Linked DNA regions of Homo sapiens: all the other regions are linked to region 1. Evidence: promoter capture Hi-C in 16 types of primary human blood cells and fetal thymus (Javierre and others, 2016). All regions are on one chromosome and are shown on one strand. Each heading gives the region's core, a stretch centred on a gene start or on the middle of the fragment in contact. The rest is flanking DNA. Distances are from core to core; before and after follow the strand shown. Region 1 holds the start of SLITRK6 (SLIT and NTRK like family member 6). Region 2 has its middle 74 kb from the start of SNORA107. Region 3 overlaps LOC105370290 (a long non-coding RNA gene). Region 4 has its middle 150 kb from the start of SNORA107. Region 5 has its middle 170 kb from the start of SNORA107.

Region 1 (5,365 bases), core at 1,545-4,044:
GGTTGTGATTAAAAATAATTAATAAAAAAAATTTAGCCAGGCATGGTGGTGGGCACCTGTTATCCCAGCTACTTGGGAGGCTGAGGCAGGAGAATTGCTTGAAGCCAGGAGACTGAGGTTGCAGTGAGCCAACACTCCAGCCTGGGCAACAGAGTGAGACTCCATCTCAAAAAATATTATTATTATTAATAATTAGCCTGTAATCCTAGCACTTTGGGAGGCCAAGATGGGAGGGTCACTTGAGGCCAGGAGTTTGAGAACAGCCTGGGAAACCTGGTAAGACCCCCATCTCTATAAAAAAAATAAAAGAATCAACTGGGCATGGTAGTGCATGCCCCAAGTCCCAGGTACTTATTATGAGGCTGAGATGGGAGGATCTCTTGAGCCTAGGAGTTGGAGGTTACTGTGAGCTGCGATTGCACCACTGTACTCCAGCCTGGATAACAGAGTGAGACCCTGTCTCTATATATAATAACAATAATAATAATACATAATAATAATTTGAAGTTACGGGGGAGCAGGCATAGATTAGGTGGGAAGATAAATAAAATTCATTGTTTATTATAATCATGTGATGAATTTATTATTAAAACTACACTAAGAAAGTACTTTCCCATTGATTACTTGGAAATTAAAAATATTGTTAAAATAAATGTTGTTCAATAATCATTAGCACATATCCTGCCATAATAAACATTTTGGAAAAAATGGCTACAGTACTGATTTGATATAATGACTGAAGAATTACAGTGAAAAAAACCTAGAGAACAGCAGACTTGTCTACGATCTTTTCAGATGTGCTAGTGTATATTTTAACTAAGTTTGAGATAATGCTGAGTAATTCATTATCAACATTACCACTTTAAATTAAAAGTTATAGATTGCTCCTCAAATAATTTTTTTTTAGTTTTTTATTCCCAATGAAAGCTTATAGAACAACTGAATAATTTTTTTTTAAAAAAGTGTGTTTAGTCAATATTTCTCTCCCTTACCATCATGGGGAATTGACCAGTAATTACTGCAATTGCCCAGTAATTTATGCACTAAAAAGACAAGATTCATTATGTAGGAAAGGAATTCATGATAAAAATCTTCAAATTTCTGCTATGTGTATATGACTGATAAAATAGATACATGATCAAATTGAAGGACATGAGAGAAACATGTGTCAATCTACAAAGAAATTACTTTCATTTGTCCATATGTAGGCTTGAAAAATTTTGCTCCACATACTATGCTACTAGAATATTTCTCCTATGCACTTGACTGCAAAACCTAAAGGAATGCATGTGAAAAATTAGGACTACAGGGTTGGGAGGGAAATTATTCTTGCCCCTTCTTTTTTTATTGATTAAAATTCTAATTTCTAACTATCTATCTAAATAATTACCTTGATTTAATTAATTTGGCTAGCAGCTAGCAGGAAATTGTGCCAAACACTAATTATTTATATTTAACTTCACTTATACTCTTCATTCTCTCATTTTTTTATTTTTATTGTATTTTCGAACCCCCTCCTCTGTATCATCATCTCTTTTCCATGTTAAAGCACAAAATGTCATTAAAATAAACGAGAAACTTAATTACTGGGAAATATAAAGTAAAGTGAGAATACTGAAAATTCCCACAGAGCCCTTATGTGTTTAGAGCCAATATACCACCCTGAGACGATAAAACTATATCAATCTGAGTGTATGTCATTAAATAATAATGTGATATTCTTCTATTTTGATGATTTAAACTATATCAACTCTCCTTTTTAAAAACAGCACTTTCTGAAATGACACCTACTATTACATAGAAGGCCTCTAGAATCTGTATTTATTCTAAACAGAATAAACAAATAAAAGACAGCATCTAGTATATGCACTTTGGATGTGAAAAAGTTCAGGAAGGTAGGTAAGAAGAATAACTTTTTAAACCACAGGCTTTTTGAGAAATAAGGAATCTGACAAGAGTAATAATGGTGATGATTCAGAAACTTTTAAGAGCTGAAGAAACACGCAACTTTTAAGATATAACCTATTAAGAATAAATTCTCTCTGAGCTAGCACTATACAAATCAGGTTATTGTAATATCTACATATTTCACTTGTTTCATTTTATCTGTAAAGATATAATGTTATATTTTTGAAAGTGATAAACAGAACTTTATCAATGATAATTATTTTGTGTTTAAAGATTTTTAAATATATTTTAAAATAATTATGCTTTTCTTCTAAATAAATATATTAAAATAACTGAAAGATCTTCATTTCTAAGTTTAATTATTGAATATTAGCTCTAGGGAAAGAAATAATGAAGTAAAAACTTAGAGTCCCTAACATAAGGCTTTAAAAAAGTTAAATGGTGAATACAAAAATACAAATATTGCAGGGAAGCAGTTCGTGTTAACATTTTACAATCTAGTTAGTGCACAATTTCAACTATAAATACCAGATTTAAAAAAAAAAAGAAAAAAAAGAGGCAACTACTCTATAGGCAGCATTCTTGTGTTTCCTGCACACATGTGTGCAAACACTACAGAACAGTGTTAGTTGAGAATTTAACATAACGTATTATTTAGCTTGCTATAACACAATGTACTATTAAGCATTTAAAATGACGTGTTATTATTTCCATCAAAATTCACTTGCACTATATTTGGTATTGAAAGGAGTGGAAAGACCATTTGCAGAAAGAGGAGGAGTTGAGCAGTCCCAAGGTGGAGCTGTCTCTTGTGTTATATGACACTGGCAGATTAAAACGCTCTGATGGGGAAGGGCTTAAAGGCTGAGTCAAAAGCCAAGAAGTCTCTTTATTTACGCCTACCTCCCAGCCCTTGGCAATCTGACTAATAACAAACTGAGCTAACAAGAAATACTAGAAAAGGAGGAAGGAGAACATTGCTGTAGCTTGGATCTACAACCTAAGAAAGCAAGAGTGATCAATCTCAGCTCTGTTAAACATCTTGTTTACTTACTGCATTCAGCAGCTTGCAAATGGTTAACTATATGCAAAAAAGTCAGCATAGCTGTGAAGTATGCCGTGAATTTTAATTGAGGGAAAAAGGGACAATTGCTTCAGGATGCTCTAGTATGCACTCTGCTTGAAATATTTTCAATGAAATGCTCAGTATTCTATCTTTGACCAGAGGTTTTAACTTTATGAAGCTATGGGACTTGACAAAAAGTGATATTTGAGAAGAAAGTACGCAGTGGTTGGTGTTTTCTTTTTTTTAATAAAGGAATTGAATTACTTTGAACACCTCTTCCAGCTGTGCATTACAGATAACGTCAGGAAGAGTCTCTGCTTTACAGGTAAGATGAATGTTTCCAGGCTTTTCTTATACTTATTTTTGCATTATAGTAAAGTGATTGAATTTGTATGTTCGCTTCCTTTAAATAAACAACTTTGCATTAAAGGATACTCAATTTCATTCTTGCTTACTGGCACAACTAACACTGGAGCAGATGCCTGTATTCTCTGAGAAGCAGACATTTAGTCTAACAGCTGGCTACAGAGAAGAACAAATATAATATTCCACTATTTCTTTTGCAACATGCAGTTTGTTGTTAGAAACTAAATATGTGTGCTTTCTGAAGGAAGGATCACTTCCAAATGCGAATGTTGAATTGCAAATATAAGCAGAATATTGAATAATTCTTTGCATTTTGTATGCTACTTATTTTCTGATTTGAAAATACGTATTCTCAGAAAACATGTCAATGAGTATCTTTTGACCTCTTTACCACTGTATCAGATATTGTCAGTAGAGAACCACTTTTCACATCTGTGTGTGTTTCTGAAAAGATTAGAAACTGTTTCCTAGCACGTTTTGAAGAGCATAAAATTCATACAGGATTTACAAAATAACAAGAGTTTATCACTGAAAAATTATTTACTATTTTCTCTGATGCTATACCTGGTGAAATAAATCTTATTCTTTCTTGGTAATTTATGAATAAGTACTTTTAGTGATTGTGGAAGCTAATCCACAAGTTGAAGACTCCAACTACAAGCTGCTTGTTTATAAACTCAGCACACAAAGCTGTTTAAAATCAAATTATTTACCTACAGAAAAATAAAATCTTCTAACTTTCCCTTTACACAGAGGCAGTATGTTGTTTTGTTTCTTCAGTTGCCTTTTGCCTTTCAGGAACTTTGTACTATATGTGTTTTCAATAAAACACTATGTTTTCAGGGAATGCAAGTTTACTTTCAGGATTGTTGATTGGGTTCTGGTATGTTTTACCTGATTGTGAATTTTAATTTGATTCAGTTACTGTTCATATTTCAAACAACAAAAATGAAAACTGATTACTATTTTGAAAAGTTGAATAGTCATAAGATGTGTTTATATTTCAATTTAGTTTATATAAGTTTAAAGTATAATATTTAAAGGAAGGAAATAAAATTAGATCTCATTAGAGCTATAAATGTTTACCTTGCATAACTGTCATTTAAAGGGCAAAACCTTTTTAAGAATTGCTGTTTCAGATGCATTTGTTATGTGTTTCAGGATTAGAATACGTGATGTTATTCTGAACCATCCTTTTTTTCTTTTACTGAATTTGAAATATCATCAAAAAGTTTAATATGGTACAGTTTGTTTCAGATTTCATTGTTTGCGACTTTAAGCCTTTTAATAAAGGCTTAAAGCTGCTTAATTATGTGATGACATTCCGTGCCCTAAAGACTGTTTCAAGACCTCATTAGGAAGTCATTTGCTAGAAGTTTATATGAAGCATTGTTTATTCTTTTACAACAGCCTGAAATGTGTGTTAAAGATTAATCTTGCTTCTTTAGTTTTTATCATTTCCACCTCATCTATAACGTAATTAAGAAGCAGTAAGCAATATACTGCTTCTAGAAATTCAATATTAAATATAATGATTTAAGTGAAATTTGAATGGTCACACTTAAGTGTATGTATCTGATACTATTACGCTTATACAAACTACCCTTGATTGAATAGTTAAAAGAGTTCTTATAGTACTGTACTTTATAACATGATCAAAGACGCATTTTCCTCAAGGTTTTCAAAATAAACAATAAAATTAGTATATATATATATATATAGCCAAAACCGAAGCAGGTTAAAACACAGACACAGTTATTAGATGTTATTGTGTGACACCCAGTTCAACAATATAAAGACAATGCATGCTACATGCGTACATGCATACACACATACACATATGCACACATACATTCTTTTATCATTTTTTACATTCCCTACAGTTCTCTATGCTTACGGCTAATAACTATGTAATTGTCTTTTACTATAATCCTCCAGCCTTAAATGTATGACCATAAGGTTAAAAAATATTTTCAAATATATAACTTTGCATCACAGTGAAGTATCAGTGCTCTAAGGCAGCAT
Region 2 (5,365 bases), core at 1,432-3,931, 940 kb after region 1:
AAATGAAACTGATGAAATGAACACAACAGCACACCACTGAACATCAAATGGATGAAACCAATTGAACAAGAAAGCTGAACATTTTAAAATCTAAAAAGATGGTATAAAAATTGGAAACAAGAAGGAAGAACAGTAGTTTTGAAGAAAAATTAAGCCAAAGACAGGATAGACTGGATAGAAAAAAAATTGTTGGCATACTTTCAAGAAGTAGGACAAATAGAAAGAGCAAAGACCTCAGATCATGAAGGTTCTTGACCATAGTCACTTATATAAATAAGTATTATTTAGATATATAACAGAGAATTTTAGAAACAGCAAACAAAGATACAAAATAGTAAAAGCTTTCATATATAAAGCCAGGTATATCTAAGAAAAAGCTGTTTTCTTCCATATAAGTGAGTTATGGTAAATTAACATGTTTGTTAATCATAGATAGACAGAAATTCTAACAGAAAGGATGATGTCTCTGGATCAGAGAACAGGCCATGTATTACATAGATATGCAGTGGGGTAGCACCACATGGGAGGAGGCCCTGATGGTAAGATTTGGAAAGTATGTTTCTCATCATAGCGTCCTCCCTTTCAAGGAGAGAAGGTGTCAATTTAGCGACTTTATTTTCTCAAGTATTCCTACATATCATCACTTTTTTCCATCTCAGATAAGGTGTTAAAATTATTCAGCAACTAAAACAACTGCACAAATTAATATGTGAATAAATATAGATATCATATATGACTTTGTTTCTTCATTTTCCATGAAACAAAATACCAAGTCAAATATAATAGTATAAAATCATTCTAATAATTATTTTGTTGCATAGTTATACAGCACATTAACTGTCACATAACCTGAGAAGTCACTAATCTGGCCCTCAGTCTAAGGTAGCCCCATTTTATGTGTTTGCTGTATCACTTCTAAATTTTCATTCATAAACATCATTTGTTATGAAAAGCTTAACAAAATTGTACAGATCATTAAAGTATAGACAGTTTTGTGATTTTTAAATTTTAAAAAAGTGATTTTAAAAGTTAATGGCTAAAATCCTCAATATACTATAAGTCTCAGGTAGGAATAAAGTTTCCTTTTCCTACAATTCTGTCCTTATAAGATATTCATGTGCTAGGCAATTAATATATAGCTGTTGAAAAAAAATTAGTGAAATTAAAATTACTGAAAGCCTAGGAGACAGTGATCATTTCTAATAGAATATATTAGAGATCACTGTGACAAGCTTAGGGAATTTCACATGTTTGGGTGTACATGTTTTTAAAAAAGAAAACTTTCAAAAACCCCAGAGGGCAAAAAGTGATTATAGTAATAATGTGGGCAGTGGCACTAAATGGAGGTTTCACATCCAGTGATGATAAACTATGAAATACAAATCACAGGTGATTTTAATGAGAGTTTTGAAAAAAAATTGTTAAAATCAATGATAAAAAAACTCTAAACGTTTTAAATATAAAACTGAAGTCTTTCATGATACCATATCAAAATGTATACATCAAATGTAATAAGAACTGAAATATAAAAATTAGAATTGTAAATCTAATAGATTATCACAGAGACCCTGTAATGGCACATTGTTGAGGTGAGGTCCTCAAATGTATCTAAGTTTTAGTGGGACTAAATTATGCCTAACATTGCTCTGTATCCTCTGTAATGAAGCTTAAAAGCTTTGTAGAAGAAAAACCCATCATTCAGGCAACTTAACTGTGTATTATGAAACGTCCAATATTATTTAAGGGAACACAAAGAAATTTAGCATCTGACAATATCACATTGACACCTCCTAGCATTTCCTATAACATTTTCAGGCTCAAAAAATAAAAGGATGACATAAACTATAATCAGGAAAATAAAACAACAATAACTAGAAACAAAAAAAGTGACAGTAATAATGGAACTAGAAGAAAAAGATATAAAAACAGATATCATAAATATCTGTTTGATATGCTCAGAAAGTATGTTTAAAAATGATCATCAGCCAGGTGCGGTGGCTTACACCTGTAATCCTAGCACTTTGTGAAGCCAAGGCAGATGGATTACTTGAGCTCAGGAGTTGGAGACCAGCCTGCACAACATGGCCAAAACCCATCTCTACCACAAGTACAAAAATTAGCTAGGCATGGCGCCTCACACCTGTAGTCCCAGCTGCTTGGGAGGCTGAGGTGGCAGGATCACTTGAGTCTGGGAGACAGAGGTTGCACTGAGCAAAGATCTTGCCACTGCACTCCAACCTGGGCAACAGAGGAATACCCTGTCTCAAAACAAACACAGAAACAAAACATAACTTATGGAAAAGATGGCAAGTCAAAATTTTGGAGATGAAAAATAAAGTCTCTGGAATTAAAAAACAAACAAACAATAGATGAAAAGAATAACCAGAGAGTTTATAGAAGAAAAACAGTTAAAACTTGAAAATAAAACATATATGTAAGACTGAAAACAAAATGAAGAAGAACATCAATGACTTGTGAGACAGTATCAGCCAAAATTGACAAATGGGATCTAATTAAACTAAAGAGCTTCTGCACAGCAAAAGAAACTATCATCAGTGCGAACAGGCAACCTACAGAATGGGAGAAAATTTTGGCAATCTATCCGTCTGACAAAGGGCTAATATCCAGAATATACAAGGAACTTAAACAAATTTATAAGAAAAAAAAAACCCTATCAAAAAGTGGGCGAAGGATATGAACAGACACTTCTCAAAAGAAAACATTTATGCAGCCAACAAACATATGAAAAAAAGCTCATCGTCACTGGTCATTAGAGAAATATGAATTGAAACCACAATGAGATACCATCTCACACCAGTTAGAATGGCGATCATTAAAAAGTCAGGAAACAACAGATGCTGGAGAGGATGTGGAGAAATAGGAACGCTTTTACACTGTTGGTCGGAGTGTAAATTAGTTCAACCATTGTGGAAGACAGCGTGGCGATTCTTCAAGGATCTAGAACCAGAAATACCATTTGACCCAGCAATCCCATTACTGGGTATATATCCAGAGGATTATAAATCATTCTACTGTAAAGACTCATGCACACATATGTTTATTGGAGCACTATCTACAATAGCAAAGACTTGGAACCAATCCAAATGCCCATCAATGATAGACTGGATAAAGAAAATATGGCAAATATACACCATGGAATACTATGCAGCCATAAAAAATGAGTTCATGTCCTTTGCAGGGACATGGATGAATCTGGAAACCATCATTCTCAGCAAACTAACACAGGAACAGAAAACCAAATACCTTATGTTCTCACTCATAAGTGAGAGTTGAACAATGAGAACACATGGACACAGGGAGGGGAACATCACACATCGGGGCCTGTCTGGGGGTGGGGGGCTGGGGAGGGAGAGCATTAGGAGGAATACCTAATGTAGACGATGGGTTGATGGGTGCAGCAAACCACCATGGCACGTGTATACCTATGTAACAAACCTGCACGTTCTGCACATGTATCTCAGAACTTAAAGTATAATAAAAAAAAAAAAAGATCCCTGGCTTCTGCTAAATATACACCTTACTGAGATCAAGAACAGAAAATATTGACATAGATGTTAGTCTGTCCCTATGGGCACTAGCTCCTGCTTGTGGGTTTCAGCTTCTTGTTTTCCCCTAACTTACTTGAATTTATCTCTCTTTCCTTGATGCCTTATAGACTTCAAGCTTCAGGCTCTAACATCAGACACAAAGACAGTAACACTACACCAGAGACTAATTCCTTTCCACAGCTTCATGAAGTCCAAAGCTTTTAAAATTTATAAATATGTGTGTGTAAGGGCTATGTGTAATTACATACATGCTAATATCTAACTACATTGTACATCAGGAATAACGTGTGGTAATTGATTCCTTGATATTTTGTTGGTGTTTTGCTGTATACATGTGATAAAATAAATAATAAGTGCTTTGTTTATAGAAATTATATAAACAAACATTGATTTATTTTTCTTATAAACGAAAAATAGTTATATATCTCATAAAAGGAAAATAGAGGGTATGTAGAAAACATAACCATAAAAGTAAACAGCATTATTTAGTTACTGTTAAACATTGAGATATTTTTGTTTGGAAAATATTTTAAAAGCGATTTATTTTTAAGTAAAAATGGATTTATTTCAGCATTTAAAGAAAAATCTTTTAGAATCCACTTGTCCATTTGGACACCTATAGGTAACTATTATTCTGATCAATCCAATAATTATTACATAATAATTATAAATGTTTTAAATATTCAGAAATATTCTATCAATCTGTTTTAATATAGATATTAAGATTTAGTTTTGATACTATGTACATACATGTATGAGTACGAATATACCAAGTAAATATTAATTTTAAAAAAGTCATTGGGGTTATATATATATAAATATATGGATATTAAAATGATACTACATATCAATAATTAAAATAACATGTGTTCATAAAGTTATTTTAAAAATTTAATGTTGGAGAGGGAAGGGATTGTCAAGTGTCTAGCTCATGCTATGAACTCCAACAGAAACCAAGTGAATTACATTTCAATTCACCTTGAATGCCCATTCCTGTGATCTAATCTAAAATTGCAAAATATTTTATAACCTTTTGTAGGTGTTCTGTTCCAAATAGACAAGTAGGTAAGCATGTTTTATATTCACGTTGTATTAGGAAAATATATAGGCTTAAACTTTTCACCTTAGGTAAATTTCTTGAAAAATGAAGGCAAAACATTATTTAAATGAGAGAAATTTAAGTAGTTTTAAAAAACTAAGTGTAATGTAAAGCAAAATTATCATAGCGTACTGAATGCTTTCCTGGAGGCAATTCCAACATTTTATTACAGCCTTCATTAAACAGTATTGAGCATTTTAATAGAGCAGAAGGGAAAAGACTGCCTGGTTCGGAATTGCCAATTGCCATTCAACAACCTTTGTCTTCTCTTTGTTTTCGGCAATGTTGCCCTCATAGAACGTTAAAATATCACAATATTTCTTGTCGACTGGTAAGATGACAGCTCTGAGGCTAGTTGTACAGTCACTAAGAAACTAATTAGGATTATTACAGAGAAGTGTATATGATAATTAACAATTAAATTTAACTTTCTGAATAGAAGCTGGTTTTCCCTGGAGGGGACTCTGCATAGATTATGCTGAAGGAAAAACTTAATAAATTTTTTTGCATACATCAGTTACATAATTATGATTCTTTGCTATAGTCATTACTATTTAAATACTCCATGTACAACTGTAACTTTGAATATATCTTTTGATGTAACTATGCACGGAATAACAATGTTTGCAATTTATTAACATTCTATTGTGACTGATATTAGAATCTTCAACTAGATGCTGTTGCAGTATTTGGCCAC
Region 3 (5,365 bases), core at 1,083-3,582, 920 kb after region 1:
CTATTGAGGAATCATTATTTTCCCAGACTCCTTTTCGGAGAGAAACCCTTGTCTTTCCTTACGTAAACTCCAAAAGTTTAAAAAGAAAAGCTCCTCTCAGATCTTCAACTACTTGTTTTTGTATTGTGTTATATGATTTTTTTGGACTTAAATAATTATTACAACAGGGGCTACTCTTGATTGTTTAAGATAAGAAAGGGTGTGGTTTAGACAGAGAAATGTCTTTATAACAAAGTGCAGTGTAAAAGCATCACGTGGCTTAATCTCATGACAGCCCTTTTTTTGCAGACCTGGGATTCAGTGGGAGCTTTGCTCAGAGCCCAGTGATCCAGTTAAAAGATAGAGACTAAATTTAAAACTACCTACTAAATAAAATTGGTCCTCTTATACAATCCTGTGGAAGATAGAATTTTATGTTTGATTTGGCATCTATTTTTAATCTCCCTCTCATACAACAGACTCTCTTTCTCTCTTCTCTATCTCTCTCTCCTCTATCTCTCTGTACTTTGAAGTGTGAATTTTGCTATCTGATTTTCACCTAAGAGTTGTTACTTAAGTAAGCAAATTTAGGGCTCTCCAGCTTACAGTTGCCTGGAGTAATGAAACAGATTATCAAGAAATTGAAAGTCTAAAATAGCAGAAAAAGAAAAGGGTCTTGTGGATCTATAAGATGTACTTCTACCTGCATATCTAATATATCTGTGTATTTATTTAATATATAATGTATGTCATGTATATGTTTCACTACAAAAAATATTAAAAAGAGCTCTAATTCATTGGCGTAAAGAAAAAAAAGTGCTTAAATCAAATGCTGTATCAGAAAAATAGAGGCTTTAAGCCCAAATCCATTTTAAGTTTACCTGACTTAAATTAATATTTAATAAGTAAGCTCGTTGGTAAAATAAAATTAGAAATGTCTTCAGAATTGTCAGCATACATTATTGTTTAGATTTATTGGTCAAATAGTTTTAAATTTATCTCTGCTAGATATTATAAGCTGTCAAAATTTGCCATGAGGGTTATAAAGCTATAAATGCAGCCCAAAAGAGAATTATCTTTATTTGTGTCATTTTTTATAAATAAGGCATTTAATATTGCTTGTTCAATACAAACAGCTAAATCTTGAGTTATTGACAAAAAGAATTACTTAACCTTATTATTCTTAAGTAAACACCTGAAATTCACAGGATATACAAATGGTTAACAGGAAAATAACTTTAAATAATAACTATCACATTTTTCATAAGTAATCTACGGTAAACTATTAAAAATAAATTAATCAGGTAAATGTAATGGAATAAATGCTTATAAATAAATTTGTCATATTATTTAGAATCTAAAATTATATTAAACTAAATAAAAGATGGTCATTAAATGTCTGGGTCATTTCCAATGTTTTAAAAATTATAGGAAATCATTTTTTAAATGTGTTCTTATTTAAAGGAAAATAATTTTTGCCTAATTCAAAAGTTATTTAAAGATTACTTATGAAACAAAGTAAAAGGAACCAATAAATAAGAGAGATGCAAAGAAAGTTATAAATATAAAGAGGCGTTTCAGCTAGTAAAGGTTAAAAGGAAAATAATTGTGTATGGGAAATAATCTTGTAAGATAATTTTTGTCCTAAAGTAAAATAATTGGTTATTTAGGAGAGAGGGATGCTTAGGATAAAACAGGAAGTCTGAGTATAATGCAAATGGTTTGTGTAAGTCATGATCAGATTTGTACAAAGAGAATTTATGAGAAAGAAAACTTTAAATGAACACATTGGCTATAATAAAAGGAAATTATTTATAAAAGTGTTTCTAAATATTGGGCTTTGATATTAAAAATACACTAACACACTAAAGAATTGGTAGGAACACCAAAATTGTCTTATTTATTTGCTCGTAATAAAATTACAAGAGATTTAATTTATTTTAACCCCAAATTTCGACTTTTATTGCATCTCATTGTTTTCAGTTTTCTCCCCCATTTGAGAAAACATGAAATAATAACTCCTTCAAATTTTTTCTCTCGGGTTCTAACTGCTATTGCGGCCTGATGCGAAAAATGTTTTATCTTAAAGCTCTAAAGGAAATATCTTCTTTCAACATAACATTCTGTGCCTTTGGCTTTAACGAAACAAAAAAGCTCCACTTATGCCCCAGGATACACTCTTCCTATGTTTGACTAATTCAAGTATCATTTTTATTAGTTTTGACTTCCAAGTTATCTAAATGAACTCCCCATAGGGAAAGACAAGCAATCACACTGCAGAAGGACTTTTCTTGTTTTTTCTTTTTTTGCCTTTTTGTAACTGGTGTAACAAATAAATTTTATGTTTTGTTGAAATAATTTCTATGTCATTTTTACTAAGTTTTGATTTCCCTAGGAAAACTTAAATTAAAACAAATTATAACTTAAAAACAAATAATTAAAAACTTTAAAAAATTAAGCCTTTTATATCCATGTAACTTTCTGTATTGCTTTTAGAGTCCTGTGCTATTACATTACAGTACTTTGACTCCTGGGTCTAAAAAGGACACCAAGTACTGCTAAATATTAAGCATTCACAGCAGTTAAAGCCTTCATCAGAACTGAGAGATGATGACAATCAAAATAAACTGCCTTTGTGAGACAGAGAGCCAGAAATTAAAACTATTGAACCCCTGTAGACCCAGATACTATTGCAGAAGAGGTAGTCACATGAGATTGTAATAGCCCATTTTGAGAGATAAAATTAACTCAGTTTCTCTATAAATTTAACATTAATATCAAATGCACACTGATGCAAGAGCAGCATATAGGCCCCTGAGTCAGAATAATAAGCCTTTCTTGGAGCATTAACCAAATCTTTAAAAAAAGTATAAAATTTTATAAAAAGATTTATGGAAATTATATCTTAGGGTCAAGGTAATTAAAATTAAATAGATTTGTTTATAACATTTGAGAGACAGATTCAACTAGTCTCATGGTGTTTTTATTAGAGCTTATTGCTTGGGAAATTAATTCTCCTGTCTCAAATAATAAAGGTTTTTGCTTTTTAGGGGGAAATCTTTGAGTTTTTACTTTGGCTAAATGAATGACTTATTTTACAGTGACCTGTGATCCTATTCTGTGATGTCAAGTGTTTTAAACTTTTTATGTTTGATGAACTTTCTAAAATCACGTGCTAAATTCAGTCCTATTGACCTCATTAATTTTTTGTTAGTAGGTCCCTTGAAGTCCAAAAATAAATGTTTGGCTTATTTGATGTAATAAAATCATATAGGAAGCATTGTCAAATATAAAATGATGTTTAACCATCTTTGGATTATATTTATATAAATGTGTTAGTAGTATTTATTGCAAGATTATATGAGATTCCTGTGACTCTAATATGTCTTAGTATATGTTATCAATAGTAATTATAATTATTATGTAAAATAGTTGAATGACACAGAACTAAATTTCCTTGTCAATTGTATCTTTAACTATAGCTGTTCTAAGACATTTTAATTTAATCCTTTAACAAGGCAGTTTATAACCAGCTATAGAAGTCTAAGGATCACTGTTAAATATAGGTTTCTCATAATTTTAGAGATTGTAACATTGGAATAGACAGAAAATTTTCCAGGGCTCTCATGGAGAGCTGACGTATTCATGAGGATTTTTGATCCAATATCGAGCAGAACAGGAATCAATTGCAGAGACTGAACTAACAAAAGAGTAAAATAATGTTGGGGAAACCAGCCCCACACCACAGTGGGTACCTTGAGTCTGGCAGAGACAAAGGAGTTAGAAAAAGACAGAATAAGCATTTAAAAGGTGGGTCCAGGGAACTGGAGCATTAGAGGCTTGCTCATGGCCCAGAGCTCTCAGGAATCCCCCTAATTTATTGGTTTACAAGCTCTTTGTTCTTAGGGCAGATGGGAGGGGGAGGAAGGGATGAGGAAAAGGATTAATCAGTGAAGGAGAACTCTGAGTCATTCAATAAGATGTATAGCAGTGGCAGTTTCTGTGAATTTCCTTGAGCAAAGGCGTGTGTCTAAACTACTTAAGATCTTTAACTTATTGGGAATGAAATGGGTGGGAATGGTTTCAGGAGGAGCCAAGATGTTTGATTATACTTCACTGCTTCAAGGGAGTTTTATCTCCCTGAGCAACCTGTGGAATGCCGCTGAGCGGTTATGTTCTTGGGGCATAAAGACATGAAGGCAATAAGGAGACTTTTCTCCTCAGAGGCTGCCCATGGCTTCCCATGGGTGTCTCACACAGGGGAGACCAACTCAACTGGCATCCCAGAAACTCTCTTTCCCACATGTCCCCCTTTTTTGTCTTTTTTTTTTTTTTAAATTAATAACCACCATTGCTATGCCATGGCTCGTTCACGGTATCTGGCTTCTCTCCCAAGGCGCTGTCCGCATTTGTAGACTAAAAACAAACAGCATAAACAGACACAAACCAAAATAAAATTTGCAATTGTTGATCTACCTATGGTTTTACTCCACTTTAAAGGATTGGTATTAGAAAGGCCATCAGCGGCTCCAGCAAGAATGTCAGCTCCAGGCAACAGGGTGAGATGAGCCTGAGATGCCTCAAAAACTTGTTTTCTTCAGTTTAGCAATATCTAATGTTAAATTATCTTCTTTTCCTTGCAGGTGATGTCTAATCATCGCCCAATGGTGCTCAGTGGCATTATAGGAGCTATGAGTAATACAAAAATCAGAAGTATTCCAATCACATTGCATTTGAATTCTATGCTCCAAATTCATAATCCAATCTCCCATCCAAATTACTGTTTGACAGAGATCATTAATTTGATTTGCCAATTTTTGATCTATTTGGCTTTGGGAATTCCAAAGCTTAGAAGAATTTTTCTGCCAACTATCCACAAAGCCTGCAGTTTGAATAGAAGAGTGCAAAGCAACAGCAGCAGCAGCAGTAGCTGTAACAGCTATAAGGCCCAGGATCACAGCTATTAAAGTAAATATGAATCTCTTTGATCTATTAAGTATTCCTTTTAGTACTTCAGTGATAATATGTATGGAAGGAGAGGCCTCCCAAGGTCTATTGAGGGAAACAGGTATCCAAATTCCTTCTCAGGACTTAACCAGTAAAATGTTATTATCTTTATTAAAGGTAGAATTAATGCAGGTAAAAAAGATGACCATTGAGGCATGATATGGTTTGAGAGTCAGGTAGGATATTAATTTTTTCCACTGCCAACCTAAAAGGAGGTTTAACACAACTCTGCAATGGGACTGTCCGATTAGAGGTCATGGCTACAACAAATCGAAGTTTTTTACTATGGGTTTCTGTTTTATTTTCTCCTTTCCAAATCCGAATTGGGGTTTGAGCCATCATTGATTTCCATAGTTCTGGATGTTCTGGACTTATAATT
Region 4 (5,365 bases), core at 1,421-3,920, 870 kb after region 1:
CTATGTGCAAATATGCGCAGAGATCCCATGACAGCAACAGAGGTTAAAACAGTTACGAGCATAAAGCTGCACTATGAATTTCAGATAGTCTAAATGAAGGACACTGACTGCCAGTCATTAATTGCGCTTATATGTGCAGCTTTTGAGACTTCAGTGTTTTTAGTTGAACAATATTTTTAGCAATATAAAAGTGAAAGTAACTTAACCGTGTAAAAGGCAGTGAAGACAGAATATCAAATCATTAAAAATAAGTAGTCTACTCTGAAACATCCAACTGAGAAAATGTCCTAGGGATGTAAAAACTATATTATTATGTTCTATTTCCAAAGAAAGTAAGAATCACAACCAAGTATAAGATAGCTGAGTGTCTTTTTGTCCTCTCTAAATAAAAATATGCTTTAAAAACTAATATGTTATATTACTATATTTAATTAGTTGCTGGATGGGATATCTAAATTTATAACTGGTTAAATTTATGTTGTGACTCTTTTCCATTTTCATACACATGTATAAGTGCATCCCTCTTTATTTTATTGTGTAATATTTGATTCACTGAATAAAAAGCTTGGATTGTTTAGGTGTTTTAGCAGAGTCAGATAAATAATTTGATAAAGCTAGGAGAGCTGTATGATTTCACTCAAATACAGGCAGTACAGTGAAAATCCATTAGAGTGCTCTTAAAATTTGAAAGGTTACCTTAGACCTATAAAAATTTAATGCATTGAAAATGATATAATACAATGACAGAATCTAAATCAACAAAATCTACAGGCTTTCATTGGAAACCTTTCCCCTCAGAACCGGTTTTCTTTTGTAAGATATCTCTGAAAGATAACACAACTAGGAAAAAGAGGCAGAAGAGATACTCAAATATAGATACAGTTAATTTATCATCATAATAAGTATATTCCCTAAGTGCCCAGAAGTTCATAGTGATGTTGTTCTTTGATGTACAAATGAGAATTCTGTTCTCTATGCAGGAACATGAGAGTCACCAAGTATAGAAAGCAAGTTAGTGTACCAAGCAAACATTTATCTTCAATTTAGCACTCTGCTTTGAATTTTTTTTCCTTAGGGAAGACTGAGCAATCATGAGACTGGAAGAGTTTGTCAAAAGGCACAGAATTCTACTTTAAAATGGTTTTATGTTAGGTGACTCTTAATGTTAAAGCAGAGATATCAAGTAAGCAATCTGACATTGAAGCAGACACTGTTGTTGCAACACCCAAATGCCCTAGTGTCAAAGTTCACTGAATGGCTGCATGCATCGCCTACATTGCTGCTCACATCTGCTCATACATTGTTCTTGGGCTATCAGAACCACCTCACATCACACAATTTCTTCCTTGTCATCACATATGAAGAGAAATAGCCCATCTTTGTTTCTTCCAGGTGGAACAAACTCTGTGGCTCCTTATCTGAAACCAAATTGTTGCTTGGTTTCATCTATTCCTTATTCTGTTTCCTGAGGCTCTTTGTGGCCACCCATGACAACATCCCCTTAGTAGGTTCCTTGTATGTCAATCCCTCTGTCAGTCTTCATTTGTAAGGAATTTGATCTCATACCCAAGTCAATAGAAAAACGAGGGCTAGAGAAACTACAGTAGAAAGTATCAGCATTTACAACATTTAAACACCTGGGCCTGTATAGCATTCCCTGGGTAGTAAATGTAAAGATAGAAAAACAGACAGTAAAACACAGTCCTGGGAAAGTGCAGCCTGTACAGGTACATAAGAGGAGAGCCAACAAAAGAGACTTAGAATGACTGGTGAGCTAGGAGAGTAATCAAGTGAAAAGATGTGATCAAGTGTGTCAAATGCTGCGGAGTGATTAAATAAAATGAGGACTGACACTTGATCACTGGAAAAAATACTTCAGAACAAAGTAAGACTATAACCTTCTTACACAATGATGGCAAAAGCATCACTCTGAATATTTCATTTTATCAAATGTAGGGAATGATTTAGACTCTTCTGTAGGACACAAAAGCCTGTGGCTCTAAGGAACTGGAGCAGAAAACACTCTGTAAAGAGAGGCTAAGACCAAGAAGTAAATGGATGGGATTTTGAAGAAAGGCTGTGAAACCCTAGACAAAATATTATAATTACCATTTATAGTGGAAATGATGAAGAACATAAATTTTATTCATATATTGTTAGTAATAAGAATCAATGGCATGCAGACGTAAACTCTAGTACAATGCAAAGGAAGAGAATAAAGACATTAGTAGAAAGTGCAAGAAGAGATAAAAAGATAGGTGATGGAAGAAAACCTAATTGTCAATACATATAAAATAAAATTTATGTGATGGTAACCATAAAATTATATCATCAAATGATATCTCATTTTCAGCCATCAAATGTTTGCAAGAATATAAGAGGCACCTGGAAGGGTTATGAAAAGGGTTTTGACAATCTATGTAATCTCATGCATTGGGACCCAGTATTTCTACTCATAGAGATTAATTCCAAGAACATTTAATATACTTTCTATTTTTCATATTTAAGAATATTTTAATTATTACTTACTGTAGTAATACTAAAAGTAATATAAACATTTTACTTTTAAAACTTCTTTTTGATTTTTTTTGTAAAGATAGGGTCTTGCTATGTTGTCCAGACTGGTCTCCAACTCTTGTTCTCAAGTGATCCTCCCGCCACAGCCTTCCAAAATGCTGGGATTACAGATATGAGCTACCACACCAAGGCAAAAAGTAAGGTAGGCATTGTGGCTTACACCTGTAATCTCAACACTTTGGGAGGCTGAGGCGGGTGGGTCACTTGAACCCAGGAGTTTGCGACCAGCCTGGGCAACATGGTGAGACCCCATCTCCACAAAAAAACTACAAAAAATGAGCCAGGTGAGGTAGTGCATGATGTAGTCCCAGCTACCCAGGAGGCTGAGGCAGGAGGATTGCTTGAGCCCAGGAAGTTGGGGATGCAGTGAGCCATAATCCAGCCACTGCACTCCATCCTGGGTGACAGAGCGGGACCCTACCCCACCCTCCCAAAAACAGTAATGTCAACATTTTAAAAATGAGTTACTAAATAAATTTTAGTATAATCTTAGAGTAAATACAGACAAACATTAAAGTTTTTTAATTTTAACATCTTCAGATTAGTCAACATAAGACTATTACTATTTAATATAGGCATATTATGGTATCTGTATACTGGCTGGCCTACAGCTGACATCCATATATGCCCGTTATGTGGAATTAGGCAATGTTCAGCCTCCACTTAATCCACATAGGTATAAAGTTTCAACTAATGTAAGAAGAACAGAGTCTCCTAAGCAGAACGTGAGTTATAATGTCTCATTTCTGCTGAAATATAGACAAGTCTTGAAGATTTTTGTGGGGCACATGTAAAATAATTTATAGCCAGAGTGAAATGTAGCACCACCGGGAGTAAATCCACCATTTGTTAGGTGCCAAGAATTATGAAGAGTTTAACTTTGGAGGGGACAATGATTATAATTGAGGAAAAGAATCAAAGAAACAAAACCAGATCTTGTTAGCAAAGGTAAAATGAATAATGGGAATTTAGAGCAATGAGAACAAGGATGTAAAAGATTTTGAGCAGTCTGGGCTGAGTGAACTGTTTGTTATTCCCGAGGGAGTTTTGAATACATTCAAATTTTGCTCCTGAAGATTCTGAAAGGTATTAAAGAAATAAGAGAACTTCAATATGAGGCTGAGAGTATGTAGATTTAAACCAGGGTATTTGAAATTCTATGCTTTCTATGATCTCACTCATATTCTTGGACTTTAGTGAGATGTGTATGATGTTTTGAATATTACATATTATTCCTGGAATCCTGCACTGAGAACAGTCCATTTATAATAAGTACATAACACAATCATTTTCATCACTCTTCATTTTCACTGAGGACAGAAAGATATATGATTATTTATAGTGAGTACAAAGAGGGTTTTTGAAGTACCAAAATGAACAGATTCTAAAATGTATTTTTATCAAATCCCATAAGTAGCAAATCAGACAAGTAGCAACTGCTGTTAATAATAATAAAATTTTTCTTAAATAAAAAAGTATTCTGTTTGCATTGGCTATCAGTTACTAAGTGAAAGTAGTAAATAATACTTTAAATTATTTTCTAAAATATAAATGCTGTAAAATGATAAAGCTGTATATTATCTTTTTGATATTTTTCTAGATAGTTAACATCAATGTTACCATACTGTGAATAGAATTAATTACAAACACTTGAAATTTATTTCTAATTATAGTTTGTAAACTCCATTACTGTTTTTGTTTTGTCATATTTAGTATTCTTTTCACAGAAATAATTACTAGTTTAATATAATACTAGCTTATAATTTCTACAAGTAATGATGTATTGACAAGTGAAATTAAGAAAAAAACTATTTGTGCTACTCATTTTTTAACAATTTTTTAGGAAGTTAGGTAAAAAATGTAAACATTTGATTTTGAAATTATGCATTATTTTTGCTAAGCATTGTTCACTTGAGATCAAAGAAACACCCTATCATTAGAAGGAAAATAAGAATTGCATTATAGGCAATTGTATTAAACTTATTATTAGAAGTTTTACTTGGGTCAATTAGGTTTTACACACACACACACACACACACACACACACACACACACACACGTTACCTAATTGATCACAGATTGAACATAGGTATGTATATATATATGTATGTCACCTAATAGATCACAGATTGAAAAGGAACCAGTAATATTATTTACAGATGATGTGATCATGTAGACAGAAAATTTTAGGAAGCTTCTAAAACTATTTGAACTAAGATACTTGTTCATCAAACTTACAGACATGAAATCAATATTAAATCATTTTTTCTATGTACTAGCAATGAAAATAAGTAAAAAATTAAAACAATATTACAATAATAAACTTGTTAGAAAAAAACTGAAGAAAGGAAGTATGAGATATGCATACCAAAAATGATAAAATATTGTTGAAAGAAAACATAAGATATTTAAATAAATGGAAAGATATCCTAATTTCACGAAGCAGACTTTACATTGACAATGTTCCTCAAATTAATGTAAAGTCTCAGTACAACTCTTATTCAAAACTCAGTCATTATTAATGATTGCAGAAATTGAGAATCTTATTCTAAAATTAAAATGGAAATGTAAAGCATCCAGATTTGTCAAAACAATTTTTTTTTTTTACATCAAGTTCTGGGATACATGTGCAGAACGTGCAGGTTTATTACACAGGTATATGTGTGCCATGGTGGTTTGCTGCACCTATTGACCTGTCCTCTAAGTTTCCTCCCCTCAGCCCCAGCCCCAACAGGCCCTGGTGTGTGTGTATTGTTCTGTTCTTTGTATCCATATGCTCTTAATGTTA
Region 5 (5,365 bases), core at 1,161-3,660, 850 kb after region 1:
TTGGATTAATAGCTGACAAATTTACTTAAAAGGAGCTATTAAATGGTGCAGTGGACAGATTAAAAAGTGATCTGCATGTTTTTTGCTCTTTGTGGTTCATGCTTTTTTATCATTTCTTCTTACTGTGAGAAGAACCTGTGACTTGTTTCTAGCCTGGAGAATATGGCAAAGGTACACCATATGAGATTACATTTGGTAAGACTCCATTTGGTTGCTTACTCACCCTAATCTTTATCTCTGTGTGGTTGGTTTTAAAGAAGCAAACTGCCATAACTCTAAAACTGTAAGGACATGAATTCTACCAATGACCTAAGGGAGGTGGTAAACAGTTTGGTCCCCTGGTGGAGCCTTTGGATTATAAACCAGCCTTGGATGATACTTTGATTTTAGTCTTGTGAGGCCTTAGGCAAATGACTCATCTAATTCATCTTTGTATTTCTCACCTGCAGAAACTATGAGGTAATAGATGTGTAATATTAAAGCTGCTAACATTTTCTTAATTCATTATGCAGTACGTAAAACAAATACAAATGGTCAAAAATAAGATCAACAAATAGGTATTGGAATAGATCTGACATTATTGCTTCCTGGCAAGGAAGAGATATATTACTCAAGTATGTGTTTAGTAGGTTTCCTAAAAAGACATTGAAAACTGTAGAAAGAGTGAAAAAGGGAGAGTACATCAAGTAATGTGGGAGTCTGAAGTGAAGTGTCTGAATGGCTCATTAAGTGGATGGCAGTATCTTTATTATTATGATCAACCTTCACAGCTTTTAATTATGTTTTCCATCATTTATGTGAAAAGGCTTTGGTTCAAATGATTATGAGTTGAGATGCATTGAATACTAGAGTGACTAGGATCTTTCAGCAGATGTTCTCATGTGCTTGCGATAGAAAATAAGTCATATTTGTTTCTCTTTTTTTTTTCTTTTTGAGACAGGATCTCACCCTTTTGCTCAGGCTGGAAGTAGTGGTGTGGAGGAGGTGGAGGCTACCGTGAGTGATCCTCCTGCATTAGCTTCTCAAGTAGCTGGGACTATAGGTGTGTGTCACCACACCCAGCTAATTTGTTTGCATTTTTTTGTACACAAAAGGTCTCATCATATTGACCAGGCTGGTCTCAAGCTTCTGGCCTCAAGTGATCCTCCTGCCTCAGCCTCCCAAAGTGTGGGGATTACAGGTGTGCATTAGTCCATTTTCACAGTGCTAGAAAGAACTGCCTGATACTGAGTAATGTATAAAGAAAAAAAGGCTTTAATTGCCTCATAGTTCCTCATGGCTGGGGAGGGCTCAGGAAACTTAGAATCATGGCAGAAGGCGAAGGAGAATCAAGGCACATCTCATATGGCAGAAGGAGAGAAAGAGTGAAAGAGGAAGTATGAAACTTAAACCATCAGATCTCATGAGAACTCACTCGTTATCATGAGAACAGCATCGGGGAAACTGCCTCCATGATTCAATCACCTCCCACCATATCCCTCCTTTGACACATGGGGGTTACAAATTGAGATGAGATTTGGGTGGGGATGCAGAGCTAAACCGTACAAGGAATAAGACACCATGAAAGGCCATCATTTTCTAATTAACATTGGTGATGTGGGGAATTCCTTCAGTCTATATCAATCTTTCTCAATATGAGATCCCCAGAAAAACAGCAGCAGCAGCCTTGGGAAATGTTGGACAAGCAAATCATCAAGACGTACTTCATATCTACTGAATCAGAACATCTGAAAATTATGGCTTCTGGAAATTTGGTTTTACCAAAGTCTCCAAGTGCTTTTCATGACCCTAGATTTTGAGAATCAAGCTAATATGTTCATGTTTCAGTGGATGAAGAGAAACTAGGCCAAAGCTGGAAGAAACACTAAGCCTTACTTTCTGTTTCCCTAATCTAGAGACTTGAAGATAACCAGCTAATATTTATAAATAAGAATATCAGTGAAGCCAGAAAGGGTGTTGTTGTAGATGGAGAAGATTTGGGAGAAGAAAGCTGGAAGAAACAGGTTGAGGTGCAGGTGATCTAAAAACAGTAATGTAGAACAAACATATATGTGTAAATCTATGTATAGGGTTGGAAAAATCAAATGCTTGATATGGACACTGCAACAAAGTTACAGCAGTGAAGAGCTGAAATTCATTTTCAGTTCTACCTTACCTTACCTTACCCTATACTACCTCAGATAAAAAAAAATAGAAAGAACAAAACATTAGGCACAGGATAAAAATTATTATGAAATCACTGTATTTTATAAAAGAAAGACTTAATGGAAATATCTTAAAAGACAAATACTCTGATAGAAAAATTAATTTGAAAGTTTTCAAATAGTACCAGAAGAAAATATCCAAAAAAAAATTCAGGTAAATTAAATAAAACATGATCTATTGGAAATGATATAGAAAAAATATGACAGTAATGAAATACAAAAGATAATAGGACTAAGCAAAGAAATCATATACACATGTAGCTTATAAATATATCAATAATTACAAAACCCTGACATGGCATGAAACCGGTTAGTCTTGAGTCTGTCTCACAAAAACACAGGAAAAAATAAAATGTAATTTTTTTAGGTAGAACCTTAGACCAAGGGTTCAGTCTAGGTCCTGCTGCTCTCTGCAAAGAAAGCCAATTACTGAGACAACAAGTATTGGCAGGGAAGAAGGGTTTATTTGGGTGCTGCATGCAAGGAGATGGAAGATCCATCTCAAATCCAGCTCTCTGAACCACTAAAATTAGGGGTTTATATAGAAGGAAGAAATGTATCCATATGGGAAACAGGAAACAGGGAGGGGTAAGGAAGAGGAGTTGGTCAACAGAAAGCAGGTGGTTGGTTAGGCAATTGTGGTGGGTGAGGGGTCTGGAGTCTCATTGTCCAGATGGAGTGATCTGGTAACTATCTGGGAATCCTGAGAAAAAAGTCAGATAAGACATTTGTAACTTTCTCCCATTTTAAGACTGGGAGTGCTGATTTCCATGTTTATTCAGAAGAAACTATAAATGTTAACTTGATGGGGCAATTGGGCTGGTTTCAGTATGACTATAATAAATTTGGTTAAAAAGACAGCGGAGACACTTTAATATGTCTATCTAAAAAATAAAAAGCACTAAACACTTCCCCCTCAGCACTCCATTTCTCTACTCTCCTACACAGGGAAATTCATCTGTTATCTGTCAGTTTTGGGGAGACTTGAGCACCTCAGTTTCCCTTCCCAAAAAGGTTCTCATCTCAGCCTTTATTATAACTGCTATTATTAATTTCAAAATAGCCTTTCTGTTGGCAGATCCAGTGGCCACTTTTTAGTCACCAAGTCACCCTACTTTTGCTTTATTATCTACATGACACTTCTTTGAAATAACTTCTCTTGGCTTGCTGAAATAATACTCCATCATAACTGGCTGCTCTTCCACTCACCTCCTGTTTCTGGTTCTACTCCTCTGCTAAAATCTAACTATCGGCATATTCATAGATATTATCCTGGGGTCCATTACATACATATTTAGTTTCTTCTTTTTAACGTTTTTCCAAAGTTTATAGCCTTAAGTACCAACTATAACATATTCTGATGAATCTCAAATCTCTTTTTCTCACCATGACAACATCTCTTCAGAAATCCTGGCCAGTATATAGAACTGACCACTGGATCATTTCACATAGATGCTGTTGGAATTTCTTCTCCTCAAACTTTCAAGCTTTTAATAGAAAACTCTCTCTCTCCCTCCGTGTGTGTGTGTGTGTGTGTGTGTGTGTGTGTGTGTGTGTGTGTGTTTAGGCTGGGGTCTGGAGGAAGTCTACCTCTATTCTGTAAATGGTCTTTGTTTTTTTGTTTTGGTTTTTTGAGACAGGGTCTCACTCTGTCGTCCCGACTGGAGGCAGTGGCACGCTCTCAGCTCACCAAAACTGCCGCCTCCCAGGCTCAAGCGATTATGCTGCCTTAGCCTCCCAAGTAGCTGGTATTACAGGCATGCACCACTACCACCTGGCTAAATTTTTTTGTATTTTTAGTAGAGATGGGGTTTCACCATGTTGCAGAGGCTGGTCTTGAGCTCCTGATCTCAAGTGATCCACCCGCCTCAGCCTCCCAAATTGCTGGTATTACAGGTGTGAGCCACTGCACCCAGCCTGTCAATGCTTTTTGAACAAGAATGTTTGTTTTCAGTTTACTTTTAAACCTGATAGCTAATTTTATTTCAAATGAATTATTTAAAAATTAAAACAGGACAGTACACAAATATTTATATCAAACACAGAATGTCTTTAACTTTTACCAAAATTCTACCTGTAGCAATTGGGAAGTTTAGCTAGAGCAAAATCATTGCAATTTATAACCAAAGAAAAGAAAGTTTTATAAAAGTCACAGATGCTGAAAAGGCCAGAAATGAACAAAAGCTTATGAAAAGGGAACGATATAAAGAAGAGCAGCAGGGGGAAAAGAAGACATTTGCCAACGTGAATCAGATTTGTTCTGGCACCATTTTTAAAGGCATAGTTTGAATTTATTAAATGAATAGAAAAGGAATTTACTTTTAAACGTGTATAATATCTCTACAAAACAAGATATTGAGAGTTATTTTTAACACATTATATACATCTCTTCATTAAAACTGAAGAAATAGAATGTATTAAGTTTTCATCTAATCAATAGGAATTGAACCCTGAACATGGACAGAGAGAGATTGAGAGGAGAGAGACTGTCAGAAGAATGGGTAGAGTTTTTGAGTAAGAAAGTCGTTTGAAATCTTCTCCTAGTCTCTGAGAACACCAAAATGACTCAATAGCAGAAACACAGATAACTATAAGCACTCCAAAAATTTCCTAAATTATATATATATGTATATATATATGTAAATGGTACATGGATAAAACCCAAGCTCAGATATTTCAGTATATTTAAGAACAATATGATAGAGCTATAGATAAATGGCATTAGTCTTTTCTCTGTTTTTCCAAAATCTAGATTTGACATTCACACTGTGGTTAGCCTGAAACTAAAGATACAGAAAATGTTTCAAATAACAAAAAGAATTTACATTACTGGGCTCTATAAAATTCTAATTGATTTCTTCTCTAAAAGGAAGAAGCATCATGGTGGCCACCTTTTCTTTTTTTACCTTGAGGGAATATATTCTTCTATCTAATAAGAGAGAAAAAAAAAGCAAAAAGTGGAACTCCAAATGCAAGCGATATGTTCATTTTAACTTCCCGTATTTTCACTTTCTATTACAGCTATGGACATGTAAATTTAAAGGAACATAAATTTAAAGGAACATAAGGAGACATTTAAGAAAATGTAATTGACAATTTTATTACCATTAAGTCTATGAAGTCTTGACATTCTGATGAATAACATCCACTGCAGCTAGCAT

The links. Contacts are between HindIII fragments. The CHiCAGO score rates a contact against its expected background, and 5 or more counts as called.
Region 2: a contact is called between a fragment that was not itself captured here and the fragment with the promoter of SLITRK6 in region 1, in 3 of 17 cell types (M2 macrophages, M0 macrophages and erythroblasts). The highest score is 9.1, in M2 macrophages.
Region 3: a contact is called between a fragment that was not itself captured here and the fragment with the promoter of SLITRK6 in region 1, in 3 of 17 cell types (M0 macrophages, M1 macrophages and M2 macrophages). The highest score is 5.9, in M0 macrophages.
Region 4: a contact is called between a fragment that was not itself captured here and the fragment with the promoter of SLITRK6 in region 1, in 8 of 17 cell types (M2 macrophages, M0 macrophages, megakaryocytes and 5 more). The highest score is 23.4, in M2 macrophages.
Region 5: a contact is called between a fragment that was not itself captured here and the fragment with the promoter of SLITRK6 in region 1, in 3 of 17 cell types (M1 macrophages, M2 macrophages and M0 macrophages). The highest score is 8.1, in M1 macrophages.

The regions. Positions count from the first base shown.
Region 1 is chr13:85,796,848-85,802,212 of GRCh38, reverse strand. SLITRK6 (SLIT and NTRK like family member 6) reads left to right here and starts at 2,794. Exons shown (of 2, transcript NM_032229.3): 1 at 2,794-3,299. The HindIII fragment of the contact is 4,986 bases long and covers 930-5,365 here.
Region 2 is chr13:84,855,281-84,860,645 of GRCh38, reverse strand. No RefSeq gene overlaps it. Among named protein-coding and RNA genes, the nearest start is that of SNORA107, 74 kb to the right of the region's middle. The HindIII fragment of the contact is 2,010 bases long and covers 1,677-3,686 here.
Region 3 is chr13:84,875,655-84,881,019 of GRCh38, reverse strand. LOC105370290 (a long non-coding RNA gene) reads left to right here. Exons shown (of 8, transcript XR_007063929.1): 6 at 4,623-4,947. Among named protein-coding and RNA genes, the nearest start is that of SNORA107, 95 kb to the right of the region's middle. The HindIII fragment of the contact is 4,992 bases long and covers 1-4,828 here.
Region 4 is chr13:84,929,862-84,935,226 of GRCh38, reverse strand. No RefSeq gene overlaps it. Among named protein-coding and RNA genes, the nearest start is that of SNORA107, 150 kb to the right of the region's middle. The HindIII fragment of the contact is 4,207 bases long and covers 567-4,773 here.
Region 5 is chr13:84,946,332-84,951,696 of GRCh38, reverse strand. No RefSeq gene overlaps it. Among named protein-coding and RNA genes, the nearest start is that of SNORA107, 170 kb to the right of the region's middle. The HindIII fragment of the contact is 2,566 bases long and covers 1,128-3,693 here.